Linked DNA regions of Homo sapiens: all the other regions are linked to region 2. Evidence: promoter capture Hi-C in 16 types of primary human blood cells and fetal thymus (Javierre and others, 2016). All regions are on one chromosome and are shown on one strand. The core of a region is centred on a gene start or on the middle of the fragment in contact, and the rest is flanking DNA. Distances in the headings are between cores, read along the strand shown.

What was found. Contacts are between HindIII fragments. The CHiCAGO score rates a contact against its expected background, and 5 or more counts as called.
Region 1: a contact is called between a fragment that was not itself captured here and the fragment with the promoter of TMSB4X in region 2, in 16 of 17 cell types (naive B cells, activated CD4 T cells, total B cells and 13 more). The highest score is 16.5, in naive B cells.
Region 3: a fragment that was not itself captured here is called in contact with the fragment with the promoter of TMSB4X in region 2 in 6 of 17 cell types (M1 macrophages, activated CD4 T cells, endothelial precursors and 3 more); the score reaches 9.6 in M1 macrophages.
Region 4: a fragment that was not itself captured here is called in contact with the fragment with the promoter of TMSB4X in region 2 in 4 of 17 cell types (total B cells, activated CD4 T cells, naive B cells and 1 more); the score reaches 6.7 in total B cells.
Region 5: a fragment that was not itself captured here is called in contact with the fragment with the promoter of TMSB4X in region 2 in 5 of 17 cell types (naive B cells, total CD8 T cells, activated CD4 T cells and 2 more); the score reaches 9.5 in naive B cells.
Region 6: a contact is called between a fragment that was not itself captured here and the fragment with the promoter of TMSB4X in region 2, in 4 of 17 cell types (total B cells, naive B cells, naive CD8 T cells and 1 more). The highest score is 9.7, in total B cells.
Region 7: a contact is called between a fragment that was not itself captured here and the fragment with the promoter of TMSB4X in region 2, in 4 of 17 cell types (M1 macrophages, monocytes, total B cells and 1 more). The highest score is 8.3, in M1 macrophages.

Annotation. Positions count from the first base shown.
Region 1 is chrX:13,465,131-13,468,824 of GRCh38, reverse strand. No RefSeq gene overlaps it. Among named protein-coding and RNA genes, the nearest start is that of EGFL6, 100 kb to the left of the region's middle. The HindIII fragment of the contact is 283 bases long and covers 1,669-1,951 here.
Region 2 is chrX:12,972,722-12,976,859 of GRCh38, reverse strand. It overlaps TMSB4X (thymosin beta 4 X-linked), which reads right to left and starts at 1,750. Exons shown (of 3, transcript NM_021109.4): 1 at 1,692-1,750; 2 at 499-614; 3 at 1-83. The coding sequence starts at 598. The coding sequence ends at 49. RefSeq lists enhancers at 193-1,031, 1,871-2,710, 2,834-2,953, 2,974-3,233, 3,244-3,313. The HindIII fragment of the contact is 8,223 bases long and covers 1-4,138 here.
Region 3 is chrX:13,386,636-13,390,271 of GRCh38, reverse strand. It overlaps LOC124905248 (a long non-coding RNA gene), which reads left to right. Exons shown (of 2, transcript XR_007068395.1): 2 at 2,455-2,721. Among named protein-coding and RNA genes, the nearest start is that of LINC01203, 53 kb to the right of the region's middle. RefSeq lists a silencer at 2,236-2,335. The HindIII fragment of the contact is 1,122 bases long and covers 974-2,095 here.
Region 4 is chrX:13,347,772-13,351,442 of GRCh38, reverse strand. No RefSeq gene overlaps it. Among named protein-coding and RNA genes, the nearest start is that of LINC01203, 14 kb to the right of the region's middle. The HindIII fragment of the contact is 8,192 bases long and covers 1-3,671 here.
Region 5 is chrX:13,403,743-13,407,649 of GRCh38, reverse strand. The region is part of intron 1 of LOC124905248 (a long non-coding RNA gene); the gene reads left to right. Among named protein-coding and RNA genes, the nearest start is that of LINC01203, 70 kb to the right of the region's middle. The HindIII fragment of the contact is 8,917 bases long and covers 1-3,907 here.
Region 6 is chrX:13,443,930-13,448,025 of GRCh38, reverse strand. No RefSeq gene overlaps it. Among named protein-coding and RNA genes, the nearest start is that of LINC01203, 110 kb to the right of the region's middle. The HindIII fragment of the contact is 5,808 bases long and covers 1-4,096 here.
Region 7 is chrX:13,305,752-13,309,528 of GRCh38, reverse strand. No RefSeq gene overlaps it. Among named protein-coding and RNA genes, the nearest start is that of GS1-600G8.3, 3.0 kb to the left of the region's middle. The HindIII fragment of the contact is 1,340 bases long and covers 1,272-2,611 here.

The DNA of each region.
Region 1 (3,694 bases), core at 561-3,060, 490 kb before region 2:
AGACTTATATCCACAGTTGTCACATCCCACCTATATTTTTGAAAGTTTCCTTGACTAGTTGGTAATTCAGTCTCCTACAGATTGATGCTAGGTGAGAGAGATTCTAGGCAAGAGAAACTGGAAGATGGTTGGTCTTCTTTTAACCAGACAGAATTGCTGGTGTAGTATGCAGTTTGGTTTTGTTGACACTGGAAGTGGTGGTGGATTCAATATGGTCGTTAGACAGATCTATTGCAATTGTTTTGGATCATTTGGTCTTTGGAGGCTCATATGGAATGTTCAAAGATCTCATTCCAAGAGTTAGCTCTTCTGTGGGAAAGGGCCACAGGAAGTCCAAGCTTGAGCTCCAAAGGTGCTTCTTAAGCTCCTCCTCCAGCCCTAAAATCAAGGGGAAAGGCAGCTCTAGGGAGCTTTCTATCATGAAGTGGAAACAAGATTCAGTGAAGGGTCTATTCCTAGGATGCTCTCCCATTTCCCTGGGCTCTGGAATTCTTGGTTCCCACAGAACCTCAAACAGATGGTTGCAAGTTTGATTCTAGGCTTATGAAACTTGAGCCAGCCCCAAATGAAATCACCTCTGGGTTGGCCAGGAGCCACTTTTTCTAATATGTTTCCTTTCGCGCCTTTCACCCTACCCCGCATAGGAGTTGACGATCATCATTAAATGTCATATGTTTTCACACAATGGAAATGAATTGTCACAATCACTATGTTGTAGGATTAGGAAGGGCCTTATGCAGGTTTTTCCATCCTTTAAGATTTAATGATAAAAAAAAAAACCTTATTTTTTGAAAATCTTATGAGATGGGCATGGTGGCTCATGCCTATAACCCCAAAACTTTGGGAGGCCTAGGTGGGTGGATCACACTTGAGGTTAGGAGTTTGAGACCAGCCTTGCCAACATGGAGAAACTTCATCTCTACTAAAATAGAAAAATTAGCCAGACATGGTAGCGCATGCCTGTGATCCCAGCTACTTGGGAGGCTGAGGCAGGAAAACCACTGGAACCCAGGAGGCAGAGGTTGCAGTGAGCCAAGACTGTGCCACTGCACTCTAGCCTGGGTGACAGAGTGAGACTCTGTCACGAAAACAAAAGAAAAAAAAAAAATAAAAGAAATCTTCCACTAGTGTTGTGTGGAAGAAAAAAAAAATCTGTTCTCATAGGAATCCACTGTAAAAGCCAGTTCTCACTCTCCCAACATTCTTTGTAACAAACCTGAAAGTCTTACACTGCAAATTAAGCTAATTTCCTTTTCATTTAGCCTTTGCAGAACTGTCTACTGATATTTCCTGGTTTAACACATTATGATGAAAAGATGAACTCTGTTGAGAGAAATGATATTAATGGAAGTTTATTTTAAGGATGAGCTGACTATTCATATCTGGACACTCTACATTTGATTCCTGGCAGACCACTGGAGAGCTAAACATTTAGATCACATTGTCGGAGGCCTGCATGAAAAATTACTTTTGCTGGGAAGTGCATTGATATTTACCCTTGTTAGCTTCAGACACAGGGATCTTTTAATAAACACCCCTAGCACAGCAGCAATCACATTTATTCTAAAAGTGATGAAGATGTGGCCCATGTGAAGACCTGCATGGAAACGTTCTTCTAGATTCTATGTGCTAGGAAAAACTTTATTTCCTCAGAATTACTGGCAAGCTTTATTTCTTAGACAACATGAATCAAGCACTTGACTATATTTTCCCTTTTTGAGTGGGCCATAAGAAAGCTCAGTGCCAAATTTTGGGTTCATCTTTGGAGTGGAGCCTGCATAAATTTTTTTTTCTATTTTTCCCTTGGTTTTGTCCATGTGTATTTTTGCAAGGCCCAAATTTTAAGTTTTATACCTATTTCATCTTAGCAGATCTATGGAGCCATTTAGAATACTTTATGTATCAAGGCAGGGAGTAAATATAGCATAAACATTCTAATAACCCCTAAGCTTAAAAAATTATTTATCAAACTACCCCTCACTTACCTTTAAAAAAAGAAAAAGAACTAAATAAATCATGTGGTAGCTTACACTTTGAAATGGGGTCAGAATTTACAGGATAATTAAAATGCCAGCTCTGGTTCCAAGATGAGGGAAGACCCAGACACAAGATCACTGAGGAAGCCAAGATAGTATTTGCCAAATGTATAAAAGCAAAATGAGCAGGAAACATTTCTACCTATTTAAGAAAACATTGCAAATGAGAACTGCAATGAGGTCAGAGGACTGTGGATATGCAGAGCAGCTAGGGGAAAAATCCTGTCAGACCTTGTAGCATGGGTCTCCTGGATGACCCCACAAAAGCCTATAAGACATCAAGAGTGCACTGACTATAACAACAATGTGTAATTAATCCCAAACAATTTGTGTATCTCTCAATAGATATTTGTGAGAGGTAGTATGATCACCTTCGTGTGGGACATATTTTCCTCTTCATATACCGTTTACTTTCAAATGATTATTTGAGGAATCAGAGCCAGTGAAAAAAGAACTCTGGAGGAAGAATTATGAGAGGAAGAGAGCTGGGGAATTTATACTTTGCAGTGAGCATGAATTTTTTCTTTTTTGTTCATTTTTCAGCACAGTACTCAGGAAATATTTTTGAAGAAAAAGAAAACCACAAACAAGAATACTAATTAATTAAAATGCTAAGCAGGTACCAGTTCCCACATGGAATCTAACCATAACCAGTGATATGGAAACTCAACTTTTGGAAAAACTCAGGCCCCAAAATACATTTTGATAGTTTTAGGGCATAAAGGAACTTTAGGTCTTTGTGATAGAATTGGGAAGATGTGAGATATAAATGGTTGTGAGGTTTCATCAATGCAGGTCTTTGTTCATCAGGTTCAAATTAGCATTTTTTCTGCTAGTCCCTGAAAGTTCTGCTGAAGCTAAATTTAAAGACTGTCTGTATTAGTCCATTTTCACACTGTTATAAAGATACTACCTGAGGCCGGGTGCGGTGGCTTACGCCTGTAATCCCAGCACTTTGGGAAGCTGAGGTGGGCAGATCACTTGAGGTCAGGAGTTTAAGACCAGCCTGGCCAACATGGTGAAAGCCAGCCTGTCTCTACTAAAAAATTAGCAAATTAGCCAGGCATGGTGGTGTGTGCCTGTAATCCCAGCTACTCAGGAAGCTGAGGCAGGAGAATTGCTTGAACTTGGGAGGTGGAGGCTTCAGTGAGCCGAGATCGCACCACTGCGCTCCAGTCTGGGCAACAGAGTGAGACTCCATCTCAAAAAAAAAAAAAAAAAAAAAAAGTGGAAGGTGAAGGGAAAGCAAGGCATGTCTTACATGGTAGCAGGCAAAACAGAGAAGAGAGCAAAGGGGGAACTGCCAAACACTTTTAAAACCATCAACTCTGGTGAGCGAGAACAGCATGGGGGAAACTGTCCTCATGATCCAATCACCTCCCACCAGGTCTCTCCCATGACACATGGGGATTACAATTCGAGATGAGATTTGGGTGGGAACACAGAGCCAAACCATATCACTATCTCTTCCATAGCTATTTTCCCTCACATTGCTTTAATCAAGCCTCTTTCTCCCTGTGGGTCATCCTTACTTATGATCTCAAGAACCCACCCAGCCCAGCCTAGCCTCTCCCTGACCTTGTGCAAATGGTAGGAAGCCTGACGGTTTGCTCTGCCTTAAGGTCTTGCCTCATCTGCCCAGAGAACTCCAACCTGGC
Region 2 (4,138 bases), core at 501-3,000:
AGGCAATGCTTGTGGAATGTACAGTGCATATTGGCGGCGCACGCCTCATTACGATTCGCCTGCTTGCTTCTCCTGTTCAATCGCTGTGACCAGAAAAAAAAAAAAAAAAAAGATGGAGGGAGATGATTAAAGGATTCAGTACAGACTAAAGGGCTTTCATTTAAAGCATCTTTTCAAATCATAAACATTCTACACGGTATTCCACAATGGAATAAAATATGTATATTGAATATACTAAATAGAAATACATTTTAATGGATAAATGTTTGTATATTAATATGGCATATTAAATATTCCATTACTAAATTACTAAAGCCCCGTGTTTGTTGGCTGCAAAACCATTTTTAATTAACCTTTGCAAGCCACATTCATCAACTGTCGGCTCTTCCCCCGCACTCCCCCCTCCCGAATTCTTCCCGCGGCCGCTCCCAGCCTCCCGCCCTCCCACCGGCCGCTCCCACCCAGCCTTTCTAAAGATGGGGGTGGGTCGGAGCTCACTTTCTTTGGAAGGCAGTGGATTTTTCTCTTGCGTCTCTGTCTTCTTCAGTTTCGACTTATCGAATTTCTCGATCTCAGCCATATCGGGTTTGTCAGACATGGTTGCGGAGGAAAAGCTGCAGGGAGCAAGCCAAGAGCGAGCGTGAGGAAGAGCCACCCGCCCCGCTGTCTCTGGGCTGGGAACTGCACTTCTGCCCTCCGACCCGCAGCCTGAAAAAAACCCTTCTCGCTCTCCTACTGCTGCCGTTCCGCGCTCACGAGCTTCCTCTTTCTACAGAAAAAGAGGCGACACCCCCCGCGCCCCTCCTCCCCATATTTCAAAACGCTGTGGACCAAAGAGGGCGGATGCCTCTCAAAGCCGAATCTTGCAGAATAAAGGAAATTGACCACTGCGAATTGTTAATTACAGCGTTTAAAATTAAAGGCTGGCTAGGACAAGGAAAGAAGAGGAAAGCCACTTCCAAATTCAAGTGGGAAAAATCGGCAAGAATTCCTAAAATGGAGCCCAGGTAGGAAAAGCGTTTCCATTTCCTAGCCGCGGCCTCTCCGCAAGGATGCGGGCCGGATCCGGCTTTCTAGTCCTCTCACAAAGGCGGCGGCCGCGGCTGGAGCTTCCGACCACCGCCCTACCGGCTTCATCGCCCGCGTCACAATGCAGCCCCGCACACAAAGCGGCCGCCGCGCGCCCCGAAGCCGGTCTTGCCTGCTCTCCCGGCAATTCGGCATCCCTGGCACACATGTCTCTGCAAGAAGGACTGTAAAGATGTCATAGCACAGCCCCGCCGCCGCCAGGCTGCACAGATGCAGCCCGCGCAGCCGTCCGAGGCTGGGAGGAGGCTCGGGGCTCGGAAGATGAACCTCAGAACAAAGGACTTGTCTATTCCCCCATATCTCAGCCTCCAAGGCAACGCACAATACCTTTGCGGGCAAACACTAAGAAATTTTTTAATGTCCCCTCCGAGCGGCACGGCAAAACGCCAGTTTTTCGGTTTTGTTCTTAAATCATCGATTTCCCCACCCCATTATCCAGTATCTAGGGTGTTTCGCATCCCCCCAGCTCCCCAAAGTAGCCTTCCCGGGGAGAACCACTCGGGCTCGGATTTAGGGAATGCCTTCACAGGGACGCGGATGATGAAAGGGCGGGGACGGAGGCAGGACGGCAGGAGGAAGGAGGCAGGGGCCCTGGGGCTCACCGAAGCGAGGCGCACGAGTACGAGCGAAGTCTGGTCTGCGCAGTGGCCACCACCGAGTTGTCGGGCGGGGTGCGGCGGGCGCAGCTTTATGGGCGCTCCTATGTAAATGAGGTGATGTCACCCGCCGGCCCGCTTAACTCCTTCGCGCCGCGTCTCGGAACGGCATCCGGAGGCCTGCCGGGCTTTTGGGGAGGGGAGCCCCACCCCCACCCGGGGTCCACTAGTGCATGCACCCTAACCACAACGATGGCGAAAAAAATGAGCAAAGCACCCTCCAACACTTCATAACACATTTTCCCCTTTTACGTTTATTTCATTACGATGAATTTTTGCAACAGCAGCGCAGAAATTGCTCTTGGGGACCAGTGCATAATAACTAAGGGTCGGGGTGGCACCTGGGGTGACAGGCATTCTTTTATTTCGAAACTGCCTTTGTCTACTGTGGACATCTCCACACAAGGGCGCGGTGTCCCTCCCTGGAGGGCCTGGCCCGCTGCAGGGGTACGATTCCTGTGACTCAGCTTTCAGTCCAGTGGCGGGCATGCGCCCCACCCCGGGCCTCTTTGTCTTCCTCGCTGGCGTTCCTCTTGCCTTGGGTGGGACGTAAAGCACCCTTAAGTGATTTTAAAAGAGAAAGTTTCATCACTGAAACATCCATATTGTTTCATCAGCATAATTTTTGTGAGCACTCAACAGTAGTATTTGCTGGGTGTAAGGTAATTTGGAGTTTATAGGGTAAAACACCTCCCTCTTAGCAAAATAAGTCAAGCTCAAGCTCTGCCATTGACTTTACTGCCGGACAATGAGGAAGTTCTTTACCTTCCTCTTCCTTATTTTCATAAATTTTAAAAGTGATGGCTAAGGAGGCCAGCGTTGAATTCCAAAGACTACAGTTACATTATCTCTAATGTCTTAAGATGAAATTCAAAAATCAAATTATATTTTCAAGGGAGCGTTTCCAGCACTAGGACATCGCTGAAGTGCATCTGCATCTGGAAATATAAGAGATTCGGGTAGAGGGAAGCAGTTTTCAAAATGGCACCTGACTCTGTGAATACCAGTGACCCACTTGCTACTGAAAATTAGTTACAAATACCATGCCACGCGCCTGCAAATGGCGTGTGAAAGGAAAAAGACTCGCCGGTTATAAAGAGGCCTAGCTGTGATTATTTCTAAGAGACAAGGCAGTGTGCAAAATATTCCTTCTCCTTTTCCGTGGCCTGGGGAAATGTTTTTAGAAACCCCTTGCTAATCATTTTTATGGCACAGGCTTTTGTCTCGCTGGGGATTAGAGTCAACCTTATATATAGACCCTTGAATGCCACTGCCAGCAGCTTGGACTTCCCCGTTTCTCCATCTACTTGACTTCCTTTTTCCTGGGGAGGAAGGAGGTGGGGGTGAGCAGGGGCAGGTGACCGTCTGGTCCCCTAGTTAATGCTCTGCTGGGTGGCTGCCTTCCTGGCCTCCGAATGGGGCACTGGACCTGTTCGTGCATGCACCAAATGTCACCTGTCTGGTAACAGCCCCCCCGCCCCTGTTCCATGTTGGGAGTCTACTTCATCGTTGAAACACAGAAAAGATCTTGCAGGGTGCCTTTTCGCCCGTTTAGCTGGCAGCTGCCGTTGTACCGACACCGTTTCCGCAGGTTCTGTGATTCTGTTTCCCCTCACCCAGCTGCTGTCGAAAATCATTTCTTTCCTCCCAATGTCTCCTGATGACAAAGGAGTGCCACTACCTTCTCCTGGCTTCTTCTCCCAAGGGCCTTTCCTCAGAAAGGGTTAGGCCTCACTGAAGCAATTCTCCAAAGGAGATGGACGAATGCAAACTTGGAAATGTCTGGAGAAGTTTTCCAGTGCGGTAGCAAGCAGCCTTCCACTGTGCTGAGACACTGATGGAGGGCAGGTGGAAACAGAGAGGAAGAGAAAGAGAGACGACTGCTTAAAGGAAAAGAGTTCCCATGATTGGGACTGACCTGCCAACCGGTCAGGAGACCTAGAGAGACAGGAAAGGGAAGGGTGGTGCAGATACAAGGAAATGCAAACCAAAGGAATATTCTTAAAAGTTGCATGACTCTGGCCATGTGAATGAATCTTTCTGTGCTGGAGTTTTCTCATCTGTAAAATGGGTTCATTGCAACACCGACCTCACAGGGTTGTTGGGAGGAGTAAATGCTTCGGACAGTGCATGACAATTAGTAAGCTCTTTCTATTGTTATTATTCGTATGATTTAGGATGGAAGGTTGAGGAAAAATAATAAAATAATTGTCTTAGTGTTTAGAATTAATTAAAAATTTTAGGTGTCTTGATATTATTTCTCCTATAGAGACATTTATATATTATTATATATTATTTCTATATAATTAATACATATGAATATATATTATTATTTTCACTTACAAAATGTTGATAGAAGATCTTTTGGTAGTTTTACAGCAAATAAAACATGA
Region 3 (3,636 bases), core at 285-2,784, 410 kb before region 2:
GAGGTTTAATTAGTTCATGGTTTTGCAGGCTGTTATAGGAAGCATGATGCTGTATCTGCTGAGCTTCTGGGGAGGCCTCAGGAAACTTACAATCATGATGGAAAGGGGGAGCAGGCATGTCACATGGCCAGAGCAGGAGCAAGAGAGTGAGGGAGGAGGTGCTACACACTTTTAAACACCCACACCTAACAAGAACTCACTATCATGAGGACAATACCAAGGGGGATGGTGCCAAGCCATTAATGAGAAAACTGCCCCCATGATCCAATCACCTCCCACCAGGCCCCAACTCCAACACTGAGTATTACATTTCAATATGAGACTTGGGCAGGGACACACATCCAAACTATTATCAGTTGGTCAGGAGGCAGAGAGTGCAAGGTGAAAATGTGGGCAAGAGCCTTTATTGTGGTTTCCATTGGAAGAAATGGGTGAGGCAGGGTAAGCAGGTTTAGATCAGCTAGTTTGAATAATTTCAGTGGACTCTGAGGTGTAAGGGCTGTCTCTAGTGTCTGGCACCTAGCCTGGGTGATTAAGGCAGGGTAGTGGTGGCCCAGGGTGTCAGAGCTCAATAGAGGAGGCAGTTGTGGGTGTGGGCTTTGGATTAGTTGGTTTGCATTAGAAAGGCACACTTGCAGTCAAATCCTCTACTATCTCTAGGGATTAGCTAGCCCTTGGAAGAGCTCCAGGGTCACCAAGCCCCCAAGATGTCAAAGCATTAAAAATAGAGAAAATAAAAATACGCTATATATATACCTCTAGATGTTGGAAATGGCAAGGAAAGGGCTTCTTCCCTAGAGCTTCAGAAAGGAATGCAGCCCTGCTAACATGGTGGCGTTAGCCTTGGGAGACTTGCATTGGACTTCTAACCTACAGAATTGTGAGATAATAAATCTGCATTGTTTTAGCCACAAAATTTGTGGTAAGTTGTCACAGCAGTAGTAGGAAACTAATACAATATACTCCTCAAGCTTCCACCCACTAATTTTAGTATCCATTGATGATTCTTGCCTAAATCGATTTTTATTATGACCGTAATTTTTCTTATCCCATTGTTCCTTCTATTTAATAGGTGGTTTTCTACTACAAGGACAATGTTTTTTCCCCTTGCCTCCCCACCATTTATTTATATAAATATGGACACACAGATCCTTCTTTCATTTAATGGGCTATACTCCTTTATTGTCATTCATTCTGATGCTCAAATTTTTCCTAATTTCATCAGTAGGAACACCCTTAAGCTGGCTTCTGCGTCTTTTTGACTTGTCAGCTGGAAAATTTGCATGCGAAGGCCATGTAATGGGATTATTATTAATCTTCTTAAATATGACAACGGTATTAAGGTTATATAGGAGAATGTCCCCTTTCCTTGGGAGATATATTTACGGGTGAAGAGTGATGGTATTATTTGCAACTTACTTTCAAATGGGTCAGCACCTCCAAAAAGGCGATGCTTTTATAGGCTTTGTGCATCTATGTCTCTCTCTGTGTGTGTGTGTGTGTGTGTGTGTGTGTGTGTGTGTGTGTGTGCAGAGAGAGAGAATTAGCAAATTTGGCAAAATGTCAAAATGATCAAATCTAGGTGGAGGATAACCAAGTGTTTATTGTGTTATTCTTTCAATTTTTCTGCATGCTTAAAATTTTTTACAATAGAATTTAGGGGAAAATGCAAACAAAGAAAAATAGCCTTAAAAAACAGCTGATTCATTGTTCTCAGGACATAGTTGTGCATATAGCACATACTTCATGATCTTTCCCTTGGGTCCAGGGTACAAAAAGGATAATTTTTTTAATGAACATTTTAAAGTGTCAGCTTAAATCTGGCCTCTGTGATTTAATTAAATGGAAAGTTTGCCCATAAAGTGCCTGAAAGCAATGACCTCATTAAAGTATGTAAACACTGTTCCTCAGATCTCATTTACACTTTTTTATTTGTGCTTATGGACAAAGTTATTTTATAATCCAATCCCTGTCTAAATCACCATAAGTTTTAGATTAGCAATGACCCATAAAGGGAGTTTTAATATGTAGTTTATAGAAATCCACATTCCAATGAAAATCCAACCAAAGGGGAATGAAAATGCAATGCAAAGCTTATTAAACTATTTGAAGTTTCTTCTACCTAATTTTTCAGAGCTTTTTATACATGACTAGACTCATACATTTATAATCATTGAAGTTTGGCAGGTACAGAGAGCTGATATGAAGTGTTGCAAGAAAACTGATGAAGGAGCCACCCAGACAGCTGCCCTGTGGTAGCTTTAAAATAGGTCAACACATTTGAAACTTTTCCCTTTCAAGGGTGGAGACTCATTCTCTTCCACTTGAGCATGGGCTAGACTTAGTGACTCACTTCTAACTAATAGAATATGGCAGCAGTGGTGGTGTGTGGCTTCTGAGACTAGATGGTGTCAGCATGGCAACTTCCTCTTTGCTGTCTCTCTTATATCATAGCTGCCATGCCATGAAGACACTCAAGCAGCCCTATGAAAAGGTCCACTTGGGGAGGAACTGAGACCTCTTGCCAACAACCATGTGAGTAACCCGTCTTGGAAGACGATCCACCAACCCCAGTCAAGGCTTCAGATGACTGTCACTCCAGCCAACATCTTGACTACGACCTCATGAGAGACTCTGTGCCAGAACCACCCAGCTAAGCTGCTCCTGAATTCCTGACCCCCAGAAACTGAGATAATAAATGTTTATTATTTTGAGCCACAATATTTTTGGGTAATTTGTTGGAAGGCAATAGATAACTAATACAGGCTCTCATAATGTCATTTATTTGGGTCCAGTCAGCATGCTTTAGGATCTGGGAGTTTTTTTCCTTCATCCATAATCTAACAGCAATATAAGGAATACAAGAAAAAGAAACTAAAGAGACTTCCCTGGATTCTCCTGGTATTGGTGGATGTAACATTTGACTCTTTACTTCTTCCCTGCTGAGTCTGAAGGGCTTTTGCTTGAAGTAATTTGCCATTTTGGAAGAGAAGCACTATTTGGCTAGTGTGTGTTTTAGTGTCAGAAAGTCCCTTAGGAAATGAATAAACCCAGAGTCTCCAACTCACTTAATAAAGCATTGCATTTAATCCTGCAACAATCCTGTGATGTAGGCACACTTGCCTGATTTTAAGGCTGAGGGAATTGAAGTATTATGTGTCAGGGATACACACAAATGTGGGGGAATATGAAAGGTCTTGGAGGCTGTCTTCATAAATATCCAGTTACTTCTGCGTCATGGAAGAGAGGAAAAAAGAAAGGCATTAAGAAGGGAACAGATATAATGTACTGAGTATGGGGAGAAAGGTACTCTCTTTGCTCCCAAATGAGAGAATTATTTCCTGAAAGGCTAGTTGAAGGTCTAATCAAGTTGACATGGTCCTCAATCCCTAATTCCCTGGAGGCCTTGGAAACTCAGCCAGCCTAGGCCTGAACAATGAGCCTCCACATGGCTACTTTCCTTTGATCTTCTGCTTCCTTTGAACAAAGTAGCAGAAGGTCTTGAAGGGCAAAAGTGGCCAATTTCTAGGTTTTCAAAGACTCTGGGAGCTGGTGAATGAAAAGGGATGTTTGTAGCTTTATGCTGTGTCAGGAATTTGATACCCCCTATCTGGGGATGTTATATGACATGGTTGA
Region 4 (3,671 bases), core at 362-2,861, 370 kb before region 2:
GATGTAACCCACAGTTGACCTAGGAAAGTTTCTCAAAGCATGTCCTCAAGAATACTAGTTACGTCAAACATCCCTAAAAATGGGTTATGTAGTCTTGATTTGGGAAAGTGCTATATCCCAAACTCTTGAAACTTTGCAGTGATAATAATATGTTCAAGTCTCTGAGAAGTCCTGTAAAATGCTGGACTTTGTTTAATCAAAAACTTTCCAAATCTTTTTGATCCTGAAGCCTTTAATTTCTTCCATAATTTTATTTATTATTTGCTTTGCATAACACCTATTGGCATCCCACAGTGCCACGGTTCCCTGATCACAGTTTGGGCCAATTTGCTGCAATAAGACTGGGCTTGGGATCAGGTCCCTAGGGTTTTAGCTCCACCTCTTTCACTAAATAGTGTGAACTTGGTATAGCATTCATAACTCTGTTTTAATTTCCACATTTGTTAAATGGAATTATGTTATCCTCTGAGCCTCTAGTGAGATCATTAATGTGAAGACGACTTAAATAATATAGTGTTTTATATATGCAAAGAACCAGCCTTGGACAAATATTTCAAAAAGACCCATCTTTTTTATCAGAGTCCCGACTCTTCTCCTTGCACTTCCCACAAGCCCGGTTCTTTGGGCCTGTGTCAGAATAAGATGAGCTGACAAATATGCTTGACGTGAACTCATCTTCATAGTTGAGCTATAAACACAGAGCCCTCCTCTCTTTGGTGTTTCACAGCCAGCTGGGCTCTGGCTTGAAAAAGTAAAACCAATCACTGCAGGCTGTTGGTGCAGCAGTAATAGTATTTTTGTCTTCTAGATGTGCCTGGATGAATGGGACTACTCAGGTGAAGGGAGACTTGAGGGACCATATATCTACCATAGGTGGGGCAGAGACAGAGCCTGAATTCTCATTTCCCATAGTAAATGCACCAGGGCCATGCAATGAAGATTAGGGGAGGTCCCAAGACCCTCGCCCACCCTCCTCAGCTTATTCTACACATGCGGAAATTGAGCTCTCGGAAGAAGAATTCCCTTGGTGTGAGTCCACAGAAAGTTGGTGATGTGGTAGAATTAGCAGTCTGGATTTCTCCCTTGCAGCAGACTTCTTGTTCTAGCCCACTTCCTTTCCCTGTTCACTGTGCATGAGGGTAGCTTGTAATAAGATTTCCTACTTCTGAAAGATTTATTTGAATATACTTGTAGTGGATCAGGAATTTTCCACAAGTTGAAGTGACCTATATGTCATTTTGCCGATAAACACAAAATGAAACAAAAAACTGTAATCTACTGTGGAATTGGGCATACTGTCTCCAAGCCATCTTTGGAAACCAGTTCTCTGGGGGTGGGGCTTGGTTAAGAGTCTACTGGAGTCTACTGAGCAGTTAGAGGGTCTAGGATGAAGGAGGAAGGAGGAAGGAGAGAGAAGGGAAATAATTCAGGGTGATGGGATTCTCTGGCAATGTGCAGAGCCCTGGGGAGATAGATGTGCTATTGATGAAGTTTGTGAAATGGTAAGATGTGAGCTCTCTCTGCACATCGGTGAGTTCTGACTGGCATGGAGTGCATAAGAAGACAATTCATGACCTTAGAGATTTAGCTTCAAGCCCTGGATTCTTTGGCAGCCAGATTCAGCTTTCACAAATACGATTTTGTAGGTGATCTCTCTTAAAGCCAGAGAGAAAAGCAACAGCAGTTCTGTAAGTGTTGATAGGGAGCCTTTGTGCTTCGGCCTTTCTCCTTCCATCTGCGTCTCCTGAAGCGGATTTAAAAGGAAGCCTGGCCAGGCAAGGTGGCTCATGCCTATAATCCCAGCACTTTGGGAGGCCGAGGCGGGCGGATCACAGGGTCAGGAGATGGAGACCATCCTGGCTAACACGGAGAAACCCCGTCTCTACTAAAAATACAAAAAATTAGCCAGGCGTGGTGGCATGCGCCTGTAGTCCCAGCTACTCGAGAGGCTGAGGCAGGAGAATCGCTTGAACCCAGGAGGCGGAGGTTGCAGTGAGCCGAGATCACGCCACTGTACTCAGCCTGGGCGACAGAGTGAGACTCCGTCTTAAAAAAAAAAAAAAAAAAAAAAAGGAAGCATGTGAATGCATGCTTTGAAACGGAACGTGTATCTTTTTGCGAATAATGTCACCTAATTCTTAAGCTACTTTGGGAGCATAATACACTATCTGATCAATTTGTGCATTCAGGACTAAGTCCTTTATAAGGGTGGTGGAAATTTTGCTTTCAGATGTGTTCCATTGAGGATATAACTAGCCTTTGATAATGAATGGATTTTTCCATTCAAAATAAAGATATCACTCAGGAGGGTTCCAATATATCTTCTCATTATATGGCCTGGACTTCGCATACTTAAATGAGCTTACCTCAACCTACATTTCCAAGGTCTTCCCCTCCCTCTCTTCCCTCTCCACTTTTGGCTATAGTCATGTGACTTTTCAAATATACACACAGATATTACCAAATATGTTCCCAGACATGTAGAGGCAGCATGTTGTAGTAATTAAGACTATGAACTCTAGACCTAGGCTCTTGGATTCAAAGCCCAGCTTTGACAATTACTGTTCCTTTGGGCAAGTTACTTAGTAATTCTGTGCCTCAATTTATCTGCAAAATAAGGATGGCATTAATAGTACTTATCTCAGAGGGATGTTGTTAGGATAAAATGAGTTAATATTTATACAGCTCTTGAAACACTGCCTCGCAGATGGTAAGTCCTACAGGCTTATTAAACAAAATGCCTCTATTTCTTTGCATGTGCTTTTCCTTCTGCTCAGAATGCTTGTCCACCACTTCTTCAGCCCTCACTGTACTCCCATCACTTTTTAAACAGCTCTACGGAGGTATCATTGACATGCAGTAAACTGCACATATTTAAAGTTTTGACATATGTACACATTCATGAACACATCTATCACTCACAAAAGGTTTCTCATGCCCCTTATACTTCTTTTCTCTCTCTCCGTGCCCTCCTCCTTGGCAATCACTGATCTGCTTTCTGTCACTGTAAGACTTCTTTGAATTATCTGGATTTTTATATAAATGCAATCATACAACATGTAGTTTTTGGTGTCACTCCTTTCACTTAGCATAATGTTTTTGAGTTTCATCCACATTGTAGTATGTATCAGTAATTAGTTCTTTTTTATTGCTGAGTAGTATTCCATTGTATGGATATACTACAACTTGCTTATTCAATTACCTGTTGATAGATATTGGGGCTTTATCTATTTTGTTACAGTTGTTTTCCTAGTGCCTCAAACAGTGCCTGACATGTAGTAAGTACTCAATAAGTAGTACTTTAAAATAAGTGAATGAAAGAATTCCTTCTGGTGTGCTTCACCTTGTCCTTAAAACAATTATTGTTGCTATGAACAATCTGCAGCCATTACAAACCATGCCTTCAAAGAATATTGTATCATATGTAAGAACACAAATTGTTGCTGATAATAGGTCAGGCGAAAAAGGCAAAACCCCAGAGCACATAAAGGCCTAGAATGCATGGAGCAGTCTAATATATATATATAATCAACATATGTAATCTCTTTGACTTTATTTTTACTACTTCCCATAGTTTCCAAATTTTTGACAATGAAAGGAGATTCAACTTTTTTTTTCAAAAATGCAATTATATTTTTAAGAACAATCTGGCTGGGCACAGTGGCTCATGT
Region 5 (3,907 bases), core at 754-3,253, 430 kb before region 2:
GCCTGAAATTTTCTTTTTTTGTTGTGTCTCTTCCAGGTTTTGTATCAGGATGATGCTGACCTCATAAAATGAGTTAGGGAGAAGTCCCTCTTTTTCTATTGCTTGGAATAGTTTCAGAAGGAATGGTACCAGCTCCTCTTTGTACCTCTGGTAGAATTCGGCCATGAATCCTTCTGGTCCTGGGCTTTTTTTGGTTGGTAGGCTATTAATTACTGCCTCAATCTCAGAACTTGTTATTGGTCTATTCAGGGATTCGACTTCTTCCTGGTTTAGTCTTGGGAGGGTGTGTGTGTCCAGGAATTTGTCCATTTCTTCTAGATTTTCTAGTTTACTTGCGTAGAGGTGTTTGTAGTATTCTCTGATGGTGGTTTGTATTTCTGTGGTATCAGTGGTGATATTCCCTTTATCATTTTTTATTGTGTCTATTTGATTCTTCTCTTTTCTTCTTTACTGGTCTAGCTAGTGGTCCATCTATTTTGTTAATCTTTCCAAAAAACCAGCTCCTCGATTCATTGATTTTTTTGAACAGTTTTTTGTGTCTCTACCTCCTTCAGTTCTGCTCTGATCTTAGTTATTTCTTGTCTTCTGCTACCTTTTGAATTTGTTTGCAGTTGCTTCTCTAGTTCTTTTAATTGTGATGTTAGGGTGTCTATTTTAGATCTTTCTAGCTTTCTCTTGTGGGCATTTAGTGCTATAAATTTCCCTCTTAACACTGCTTTAGATGTGTTCCAGAGATTCTGGTACGTTGTCTCTTTGTTCTCATTGGTTTCAAAGAACTTGTTTATTTCTGCCTGAATTTCATTATTTACCCAGTAGTCATTCAGGAACAGGTTGTTCAGTTTCCATGTAGTTCTGTGGTTTTGAGCGAGTTTCTTAATCCTGAGTTCTAATTTGATTATACTGTGGTCTGAGAGACTGTTTGTAATGATTTCCATTCTTTTGCATTTGCTGAGGAGTGTATTACTTCCAATTATATGGCCAATTTTAGAATACGTGCTATGTGGCACTGAGAAGAATGTATATTCTATTGATTTGGGGTGGAGAATTCTGTAGATGTCTATTAGGTCCGCTTGGTCCAGAGCTGAGTTCAAGTCCTGTATATCCTTGTTAATTTTCTGCCTTGTTGATCTATCTAATATTGATAGTGGGGTGTTAAAATCTCCTACTATTATTGTGTGGAAGTCTAAGTCTTTTTGTAGGTCTCTACAAAGTTGCTTTATGAATCTGGGTGCTCCTGTGTTGGGTGCATATATATTTAGGATACTTAGCTCTTCTTGTTGCATTGATCCCTTTACCATTATGTAATGGCCTTCTTTGTGTCTTTTGACCTTTCTTGGTTTAAAGTCTGTTTTATCAGAGACTAGGATTGCAACCCCTGCTCTTTTTTTGCCTTCCATTTGCTTGGTAAATATTTCTCCATCCCTTTATTTTGAGCCTATGTGTGTCTTTGCATGTTAGATGGGTCTCCTGAATACAGCACACCAGTGGGTCTTGACTCTATCCAGTTTGCCATCTGTGTCTTTTAATTGGGACATTTAGCACATTTGCATTTAAGGTTAATATTGTTATGTGTGAATTTGATCCTGTCATCATGATGCCAGCTGGTTATTTTACATATTAGTTGTTGTAGTTTCTTCATAGTGTCATTGGTCTTTATATTTTGGTGTGTTTTTGCAGTGGCTGGTACCAGTTTTTCCTTTCCATATTTAGTGCTTTCTTCAGGAGCTCTTGTAAGGCAGGCCTGGTGGTGACAAAATCCCCCAGCATTTGCTTGTCTGGAAAGGATTTTATTTCTCCTTCACCTATGAAGTTTAGTTTGGCTGGATATGAAATTCTGGGTTGAAAATTCTTTTCTTTAAGAATGTTGAATATTGGCCCCCACTCTCTTCTGGCTTGCAGGGTTTCTTGGAGGCTTTGTTCATTCCTTTTCTTTATTTTTTCTCTAATCTCGTCTTCACACCTTATTTCAGTAAGTTGATCTTCAGTCTCTGATATCCTTTCTTTGGCTTGATTGATTCAGCTATTGATACTTGTGTATGCTTCATGAAGTTCTCGTGCTGTGTTTTTTAGCTCTATCAGGTCATTTATGTTCCTGTCTAAATTGGTTATTCTAGTTAGCAGTTCCTGTAGCCTTTTTTGAAGGTTCATAGCTTCCTTGCATTGGGTTAGAACATGCTCCTTTAGCTCAGAGGAGTTTGTTATTACCCAGCTTCTGAAGCCTACTTCTGTCAATTCTTCGGTCTCATTCTCTGTCCAGTTTTGTGCCCTTGCTAGAGAGGAGTTGCGATCATTTGCAGGAGAAGAGGCCTTCTGGTGTTTGGAATTTTCAGCATTTTTGCACTTGTTTTTCCTCATCTTTGTAGATTTATCTACCTTTGATCTTTGAGGCTGATGAACTTTGGATGGGGTTTTTGTGTGGGGGGTCCTTTATATTGATGTTGTTGCTTTCTGTTTGTTAGTTTTTCTCCTAACAGGCCCCTCTTCTGCAGGTCTGCTGCAGTTTGCTGGAGGTCCACTCCAGACCTTGTTCGCCTGGGTATCACCAGTGGAGGCTGCAGAACAGCAAAGATTGCTGCCTGCTCCTTCCTCTGGAAGCTCCCTCCCAGAGCGGCACTGGCCTGATGCCAGCCGGAGCTCTCCTGTAGATGTCTGTTGACTCCTGTTGGGAGGTTTCTCCCAGTCAGGAGGCCCGGGGGCCAGGGGCCCACTTAAGGAGGAAGTCTGTCCCTTAGCAGAGCTGGTGCACTGTGCTGGCAGAATGCCTCTTGTCAGGATCAGCTGCTCTCTTCAGAGCCAGCAGGCAGGAACGATTAAATCTGCTGAAGCTGCACCCACAGCCGCCCCTTCCCCCAGGTGCTCTGTCCGAGGGAGATGGGGGTTTTGTCTGTAAGCCCCTGACTGGGGCTGTTACTTTCCCTTCAGAGATGCCCTGCTCAGTGAGGAGGAATCTAGAGAAGCAGTCTGGCCACAGCCACTTTGCTGCGCCCATCCCAGACCTCACAGCCTCCTTAGCACTGTCAGGGGAAAACCTCCTACTAAAGCCTCAGTAATGGAGGACGCCCCTCCCCCTACCAAGCTCAATTGTCCCAGGCCAACTTCAGACTGCTGTGCTGGCAGCAAGAATTTCAAGCCGGTGGTTCTTAGCTTGCTGGCTTCCATGGGAGTGGGACCTGCTGCGCTAGACCACTTGGCTCCCTGGCTTCAGCCCACTTTCCAGGAGAGTGAACGGTTCTGTCTCTCTGGGGTTCTGGGCGCCACTAGGGTATGAAAAAATACTTCTGCAGCTAGCTCCGTGTCTGCCCAAACAGCTGCCCAGTTTTGTGCTTGAAACCCAGGGCCCTGGTAGTGTAGGAACGCAAGGGAATCTCCTGATCTGCAGACTGCAAAAACCGTGGGTATCAGCTGGGTAGCACAGTCCCTCATGGCTTTCCTTGGCTTGGGTAGGGAGGTCCCTGGCTCCTTGCACTTCCTGGGTAAAGAGATGCCCCACCCTGCTTCTGCTTGCCCTCTGTGGATTGGATCCACTGCCTAACCAGTCTCAATGAGATGAACTGGGTATCTCAGTTGGAAATTCAGAAATCACCTGCCTTCTGTGTTAGTCTTGCTGGGAGCTGCAGACCGGAACTGTTCCTATTTGACCATCTTGGCTCCTCCCTCCTGTTATTATATTTTTATGATGAATTTAGAATGAACCAAATTTAATAATTCCCATAGGGAACTTTGGGACACCTGAGCATATGTCCTTGGATTTCATCTGAGAGAAACAGATTTAGGGGGAGCAGGGGACAGAGTAATCCAAGAAGGGGAAACAAAAGACGAGAAGGCCCTGGGAGTGGTGATAAATCAATGTCTGATTGGCTCATTCTGTTGCAGGAAAATCTGGGTTCTTGTCACAGACCAGGAAAGA
Region 6 (4,096 bases), core at 190-2,689, 470 kb before region 2:
TGAGATCTCATAGCTTTCTTTGGGCCCTAGAGGTTACTATGACTAAATGCTTTTAAATACTGGCACTGGGCTGGGCTCAGTGGCTCACGCTTGTAATCCCAGCACTTTGGGAGGCCAAGGTGGGAGGACTGCTTGAACTCAGGAGTTCAAGACCAGCCTGGGCAAAATAGTGAGATCCCATCTGTATCAAAAACTAAAAAAAAATTAGCCAGGCATGGTGGTGTGTGCCTGTGTTCCCAGCTACTCTGGAGGCTGAGGCAGGAGAATCACTTGAGCCCGGGAGGTCAAGGATGCAGTGAACCTTGATCGTGCCACTGCACTCCAGCCTAGGTGAAAGAGTGAGACCCTGTCTCTAAATAAATAAATAAGTACTGGAACCATTATCATGACTCTAGCTTTAAAAATAAAAAAAATTCTAAAGGAGACAGAAAATGAAGGATAAACATGAGGCTGAATTTCATGGTCGGAATGCAGAAAAGGTGACTACCACTGTGGATGTGGGTGATTTTACATTACAGGCCAGGCTTTCTAGAGGCTGACTACACTCCTAATGAAAGATGAGGGACTGAGAGTCTTCCTCCTTATTTTTGAAGAAGGAGAAAATAAATTGGCTGAACCACTGCTATTAAATTCTGTTTCAATTAATTACAGTAATTGTTGATCAATATAGAACTTTGTAATGCATTCGATCCCCTTATTTTTATTTTTATTTTTTGAGGCCGAGTCTCACTGTGTCGCCCAGGCTAAAGTGCAGTGGCGCGATCTCGGCTCACTGCAACCTCTGCCTCCCAGGTTTAAGTGATTCTCCTGCCTCAGCCTCCCGAGTAGCTGGGATTACAGGTACCCACCACCATGCCCGGCTAATTTTTGTATTTTTAGCAGAGACAAGGTTTTGCCATGTTGGCCAGGCTCGTCTCGAACTCCTTACCTCAGGTGATCCACCTACCTCAGCATCCCAAAGTGCTGGGATTACAGGCGTGAGCCACTGCGCCCAGCCAGATCCCTTTGTTTTTAACAAGAGAAGCCATGCACTGCATTGCTAAGGCTATCACAATGGCATTGTCAAATATACGAACACATGATGAAATCTGTGAGTGGCTCTAGACTAATTTGGTTGGTGAAAGAGATGGTCTAAATATACACTTAACAGGCCCCCAATCAATACCTGTTCAAAGAATAATAGTAGGCTGGGCACGGTGGCTCACCCCTGTAATCCTAGCACATTGGGAGGCTGAGGTGGGCAGATCACCTGAGGTCAGGGGTTCAAGACCAGCCTGGCTAATGTGGAGAAATGCTGTCTCTACTAAAAATACTAAAATTAGCCAGGCGTGGTGGCACATGCCTGTAATCCCAGCTACTCGGGAGGCTGAGGCAGAAGAATTGCTTGAACCCGGGAGGTGGAGGTTGCAGTGAGCCAAGATTGTGCCACTGTACTTCAGCCTAGGTGACAGAATGAGACTCCATTTCAAAAATAAATAAATAAATAAATAAATAAATAAATAAATAAATAAGAATAGTAGTGGCTACAATGTACGAAGCACTTACTGTGTCTAGATACTATTCTAAGCACTGTCCATGTTGCAACTCATTTCATTCCATCAACTCTTCAAAGTAGACATTACTAAGATCCTATTTTACAGCCAGGAAGCATTCACAGAGAGTATGAATAATTTACCTGAGAAGGGGTAGTACAGGGATCAGAGCCAAGCAGTGGGTAGCAGAGTCCATGTAAGTAATTACCATGCTAAACTACCTCATGGATGAGCGATACCATCAGATCTTAGAAGTGAGATACAATCTAGCAAGGAAAATGAATTGGGTCTTGTAATCAGTAAGGTCAGAGATGGGGGCAGGATGCTTATACTTTTAGAGAGGAGATGAGTCTGTTTTTCCCTACTGTTTTCTTATTCATTTTTCCAACCAATTCTGGACACCTCCTATAGCTTCTGTCCTTCCCTCATTTTTGTATTTCCAAGGGCTTTATTTTCCAGTGCTTTTATTTTTGAAATAAAAAGAATTTAGGCCCACAATCCCAGTGTTTTGGGAGGCCAAGGTGAGAGGATCACTTGAACCCAGGAGTTTGAGGCTGCAGTGAGCTATATGGTCTTACTACTGCACTCCAGCCTGGGTGATGAAGCAAGACCCTGTCTCAGAGAAAAAAAAAAAAAAGAGAATTCAGACACACACAATTATTATTTGAGCTGGCATAGTGTTAACTTCCCCTGTGAATAGATTGTCTCCTGATCCATACCAGGGAATGGTCTTTAGTTCTGCTGTTTCTTGATTGGTAAGTTATTACAGCTGAGATGTTAATGGCCAGTAATGGCTTAAGACTTTGCTTCTCAAACTTTACTACCTATGGCAGACAGATTCTAGGGTGGCCCTCATGATTTCTACCTCCTGGGATTCACACCCTTGTACATTCCCCTCCCCTTGAGCATTGGCAGGACATGTCTTGTTTCTAAGCAATAGAATACAGCAAGCGTGACAGATGTATGTGATTTCACATATGTGATTATGTTACATAAGCAAGATTTTAATGTGTTTTGCTAGAAGACTCTCTCTCCCTTGCTGGCTTTGAAGAAGCAAGCTGCCATTTTGTATGCTGTCATGTGGAGAGGACCACACAGTGAGGAGCTGAGAGTCTGCAAGAAACTGAGGCCCTCAGTCCAGCAATCCACCAGGAACTGAATGCTGCTGACAATGATGTGAGCTTGGAAACAGATCCATCTCCAGTTGAACCTTCAGATGAGAACCCAGGCCCAGCTGACACCTTGATTGCATTCTTGTAGAGGATCCAGCTAAGCCATGCCTGGACTCCTTACCCACAGAAACTACAAGATAACAAATGTACGTTGTTGTAAATTGCCCAGTTTGTGGTCATTTGTTATATAGCAATAGAAAACTAATACAGATTCCAAGCAGATCTAACAGCTGAGGGGCATGAGGTATATGTCTGGAAGGCTAGAGACTACCAGAAATGGTTTCTCACAGCAATAAATTGCTTTTATTTTGAAAATATGTGCAACATTTGCATTTTACCAATAACTTATGTTTTTGATTGCTTATCACTTAAATACCTTTAATTTTTCACCAATGGTTCAAATAAAATTGCTCTAGTAAGTTCCTTTTTGTTTATTCTGGGGATTCAAATTTCCTACCTTGTTTCTTGGGGAATGAAAATTCCAATTGGTTATACCTCTCTGAGTTGCATTTTCATGAGTCCCATGACCATATTTCAGAAGGTTTGGCTGAATACGATGTTCAGAGAGAAGTATCACAGGCCCAGGGGAAGAGAAAGAAACTGGAAGGGCTTAAGGCTAGAATTACATGAATCGATAGGGCTGAAGAGCTGGTCCTCAAAGTGGATAGTCAGTAGTCCAAAATATACTTCGCCAGGGTGAATCAAACCCGGACTTTTTTCAGACTTTTGGTAAAATTATTGGCTATCCTGTTCAGGGTGTAGGGCAGAGCAAGACAAATATCTCCATTCAAATGGGAGTGTAGACAGGGCAGGGTCATGGTTGTTCAGGAGACTCCATCACTGTCAGTGTTAAGTGGTGTAGGACAGGAATAAAGACCCTGGCTTACTGGGGTTTAGAGATGAACTTTATTTCCGGTAGAGAAAACTGGAGGGTCAATTAGGAAAACAAAACCCAGAACATTGCAGCCGGACTGATCTGACACAACTGGTGTTGGAGAATGGCTATAGCTTAATGAACATAAAAACCATAGCAGAGTTTACCCTGGGCACACCCACAGGACCAAACTCAGGCTTTAACAGCCTTGATTACTATGGCTCAAGAATCATGCAAGATTAAACTTGCAGGCGATAGGGCCCAGGGGCAAGTGAGACTGCAAAGGATAAGTAACTGGAGGTTTAGGAACCAAGAAAGAGCCTGGGAGAAAGATATCTGGGCACTTGGAGGACTTTGTGAATTAACCTCAAATCACACTACGTGTTCATCTGTGAAGATGGCCCTGTGAGTAATTCCTAAATGACAACTCTTTTTTTTTTTTCTTTTTTTGAGACAGGGTCTTGCTCTGTCACCCAGGCTGGAGTGCAATAGCATGATCACGGCTCACTGTAGTCTCA
Region 7 (3,777 bases), core at 692-3,191, 330 kb before region 2:
CTAAATGTTCTATGGTGATTGTAGATACAAAACTGATATATCATTAGGCAATTTTTCCTTTTTAAAGAAAATGTTCTATTTTTTCATGATTATTCTTAGCTACTACCTACTTCTACTCACCAAAGTCAACCATCAGCCATGAGAAAGAATATTGAGGCCATAATTAAAACAATGGCAGGGGCATGAACAACACCTGAGAATGCTGCTCTGTCTCCTATATCTACTTCTCATTCAACCCAACCCTTTACTTTTTGAAAATGAAAAATATTACCTTTTTTTCTAGTAATGATTTTGTTAACTTTCATTGATTGACTTCCCATGGAATTATTTCCTGGCTGGCAGGGAATTAAATGTGATTTAAAATTATAATGTACTACCAAGTGAGTTTTTATGTCCAAAGTTCATGAAATCATATTCATTAGGGGCTTTTCCTTCATATTCTGACTTACATGAAGGCAACGTTTTGCAGTCATATGTATTAGTAAGGTGGTGATAGGGTAACTGAAGAGCTTACCTCTCTGTGTTTATCAACATCTGGCGACAAGAGACATCTGACCTCTGGTTTAGGCTAAGCAGAGGACAAAGTCTGGCATTTGGGCTTTCAGTTATGCCACACCCTGACTTAGCAAGGCTCTTTGCCTTTAGTAGCCTTGTACCTTCCCTCAGAGCATGATTTAGATGACTTCCAAAATTAATTCTATATTTTATGTCTCATGTCTTGCCTATTATGTCTGGATATAATTGCAATACTATGTAACTGTTATTTTTATATATGATATATGCAGTGGACCCTTGAAGAACAAGGGTTGCTGTGCAGGTCCACTTTTATGCAGATTTCCTTCTGCCTCTGCCACCCCAAGGCAGCGAGATCAACCTATCCTCTTCCTCCTCCTCCTTTGTCTACTTAACACAAAGACAGTGAGGATGAAGACCTTTATCATGAGCCACTTCCACTTAATGGTAAATATATTCTTTCTTCCTTATGATTTTCTTTTCTCTAGCTTACTTTATTGTAAGACTACAGTGTATAATACATATAACATGCAAAATATGCGTTAACCAACTGTTTATGTTACCAGTTAGGCTTCCGGTCACCAGTAGGCTTTTAGTAGGTAAATTTGGAGGGAGTCAAAAGTTACACACATTTTCGGCTGTGTGGGGGCCGGTATTCCTAACACTCATGTTGTTCAAGGATGAACTGTATTATATAACATATATCCTATATATACCAGTATAGATATTAATAACAATTATTTTATTTTATATAAGCTTGGAACTCCTGGGATACTAAAATTACTATTTTTGAACCTAAAAAAAAAAATCAACCACCCCCCGAAACAGGCTTCCACTACTAAGCTATACTATTTATCTTAAATATGAAACACTATTATATCTTACCCGTTTTTAGAAGCAGACACTACAACAATCAAATTTTCTGGGCACAGTGAAAAATATCATTATCTGCGTACACGGATTTGTATATAATTTAACGGATATTTACAAAGCCCAGTATTGTTAGGTATGATGAGAAGTCAAAGATTTGTGGTTTGTTTTTCATATAGCTGGTGGTATTTTTTGTTTTTGTTGTTGAATTTTGCTGTTTCAATATACCAGTGTGCTTCAGGCACTTTTCTTCTCTGTTTTGTTTGTTTGTTTGTTTTTTGGTTTGTTTCTTTCATACAGAAAAATGTTGCCACTTATCAAGGGGAATGATTAAACATATGAAGTAGTCATATGATGAAGTATTTAAAATCATTAAATATCATACTTTAGAAAATATCAAATATCAACTCAAGTGTATGCTGCTTGGGTAATGGGTACACCAAAATCTCAGAAATCACCACTAAAGAACTTACTCATGTAACCCAACCACCACCTGTTCCCCAAAAATCTATTGAAATAAAAAAAATTAGCTTATCAAATCTGAAAAAGAAAGAAAATATCAACTGACCTCCTAAAATGCCCATGAAATGATACTGAGGGGAGGGGAAAAGATAAAGGTGATGTACACAGAATAAATGCAATTACACTTAAAATGCATTTACATGCAAAAAAAAAATAAGTAGCAAAGAAATACACTAAACAGTTATCTCTGAGAGTATAATAATGAGTGATTTTTATATTTCTCTGTAGACGCTGTGTAAGTTGTAAATTTATACAAGGCACATATTTGACTAATTAACAGGAACAGGATAAAATTATCTTCAAAGTATCATTCTGTTCTCTTCTTGACTCTTTGTCTGACAAGAACAAGATTGTCTGGTGAGGCTGTTATGAGGATGAAATTGGAGAGCATCTGTAAACCATATGTGAAGCTCAACAGGTCAAAAGAGCTTGGTTCTCATTCTTCCACTAAGGCTATTTTCGAAATTTTATCTGTACCTTTAATTTGTAGTTTCTTTGTATTATTACTATAACACAAGATTTGCTCTGTATTATTACTATAACACAAGGAAACTACAAATTAAAGGTACAGATAATATTTTTGTTTGTATAAGCTGCACACTAAACCACTATAATTGTGCAAAGGTGTTTAACTCTTAGGACTCCAGCACCCATAGGCCTCCACTCCAATAAGGAGATTATACTGTGAATTACTGACCTGTAAGCTTCGTGGGGCAGGATTCCAAGACTAACTTCCTTGGTCAAATGAGAAAATAGTCCAGAGAAAAATATTATCTTTGTAATACAGAAATTAATAAAGAGATAAAAATAATGAGATCTTTAGGATCCTAGTATAGACAAAGAAGCCATGGTGGCTAATTTCTCAGATTCTAGCAGGGCTTCTTTACCTCCGCCCTACTGACAATTTGGGCCAGATAACTTTTTGTGGATAATTATTTGTTATGGGAACTGTCCTGTGTGTTGTAGGATGTTTAGCAGCATCCCTGGCCTCTACCCACAAGACACCAATAGCAATCACTTCTCTAGGTGTGACAATTAGAAACGTCTCCAGACATTGCCAAATGTCCCTGCAGGAGTAAAACTGCCCCTAGTTGAGAATCATTGGATTATAGAAAGAAGGAAAATAAAAATCATGATGTTCTTTCATTTTCTCCAAATCATCCGACCAACAACATTGCTAATGGTAATCTAGAGACAGTTCATAACAAAACAGGCTTAATTTAGAAAGATATAGTTATGGATTCAGCCACTTTGATTAAAAAGTTGTAATTCTTGTCTTTAGTCCACTGCCCATTCATCCTAGGGAGAAGATTTTATCAAGTACTAGTAAGTAGTAGGCCTTAGGCTACAATCTACCAACATGTGTCTAATTCAAGGGCAAAGAGTTGGAAACTCATAAGGTGGAGAGGAGGTCTACTTATAAGCCAAAGAAAGCACATTCCAGAGTTACTTTACTTAAGAATTAACAACTACAATACAGAGAATTTGTGAAAAACCCATTCTGCCACTGAGAAGGCCACTGGGATTTGATACAGTGGAAATGAAATCTGGTTCAAACCATAAGGCCATATCTCCCTAAAAGATTCCCCTTTTGAAAACTGCATTTAATTTGACTAACTACTCAACAAAATATTATATTCATAGAATGCAATTCTAGGAGAAAAGTTGGTTTGATGAAAGAATCAGTGGCGTCTGGCTGTAATCAATATGCATGATTGCCATGAACCATAGATAGGCTAATTCCACTTAGATTTAAGCACCCTTCCTCTAGTTGTATACCGGTCATGCTTCCTGATTAGCTCTGATATGCAAAGAGCTTAGAAGTCAACATTCCTGTTCTCACAGCAAGAAAAATGCTGAACAAGCTAACAA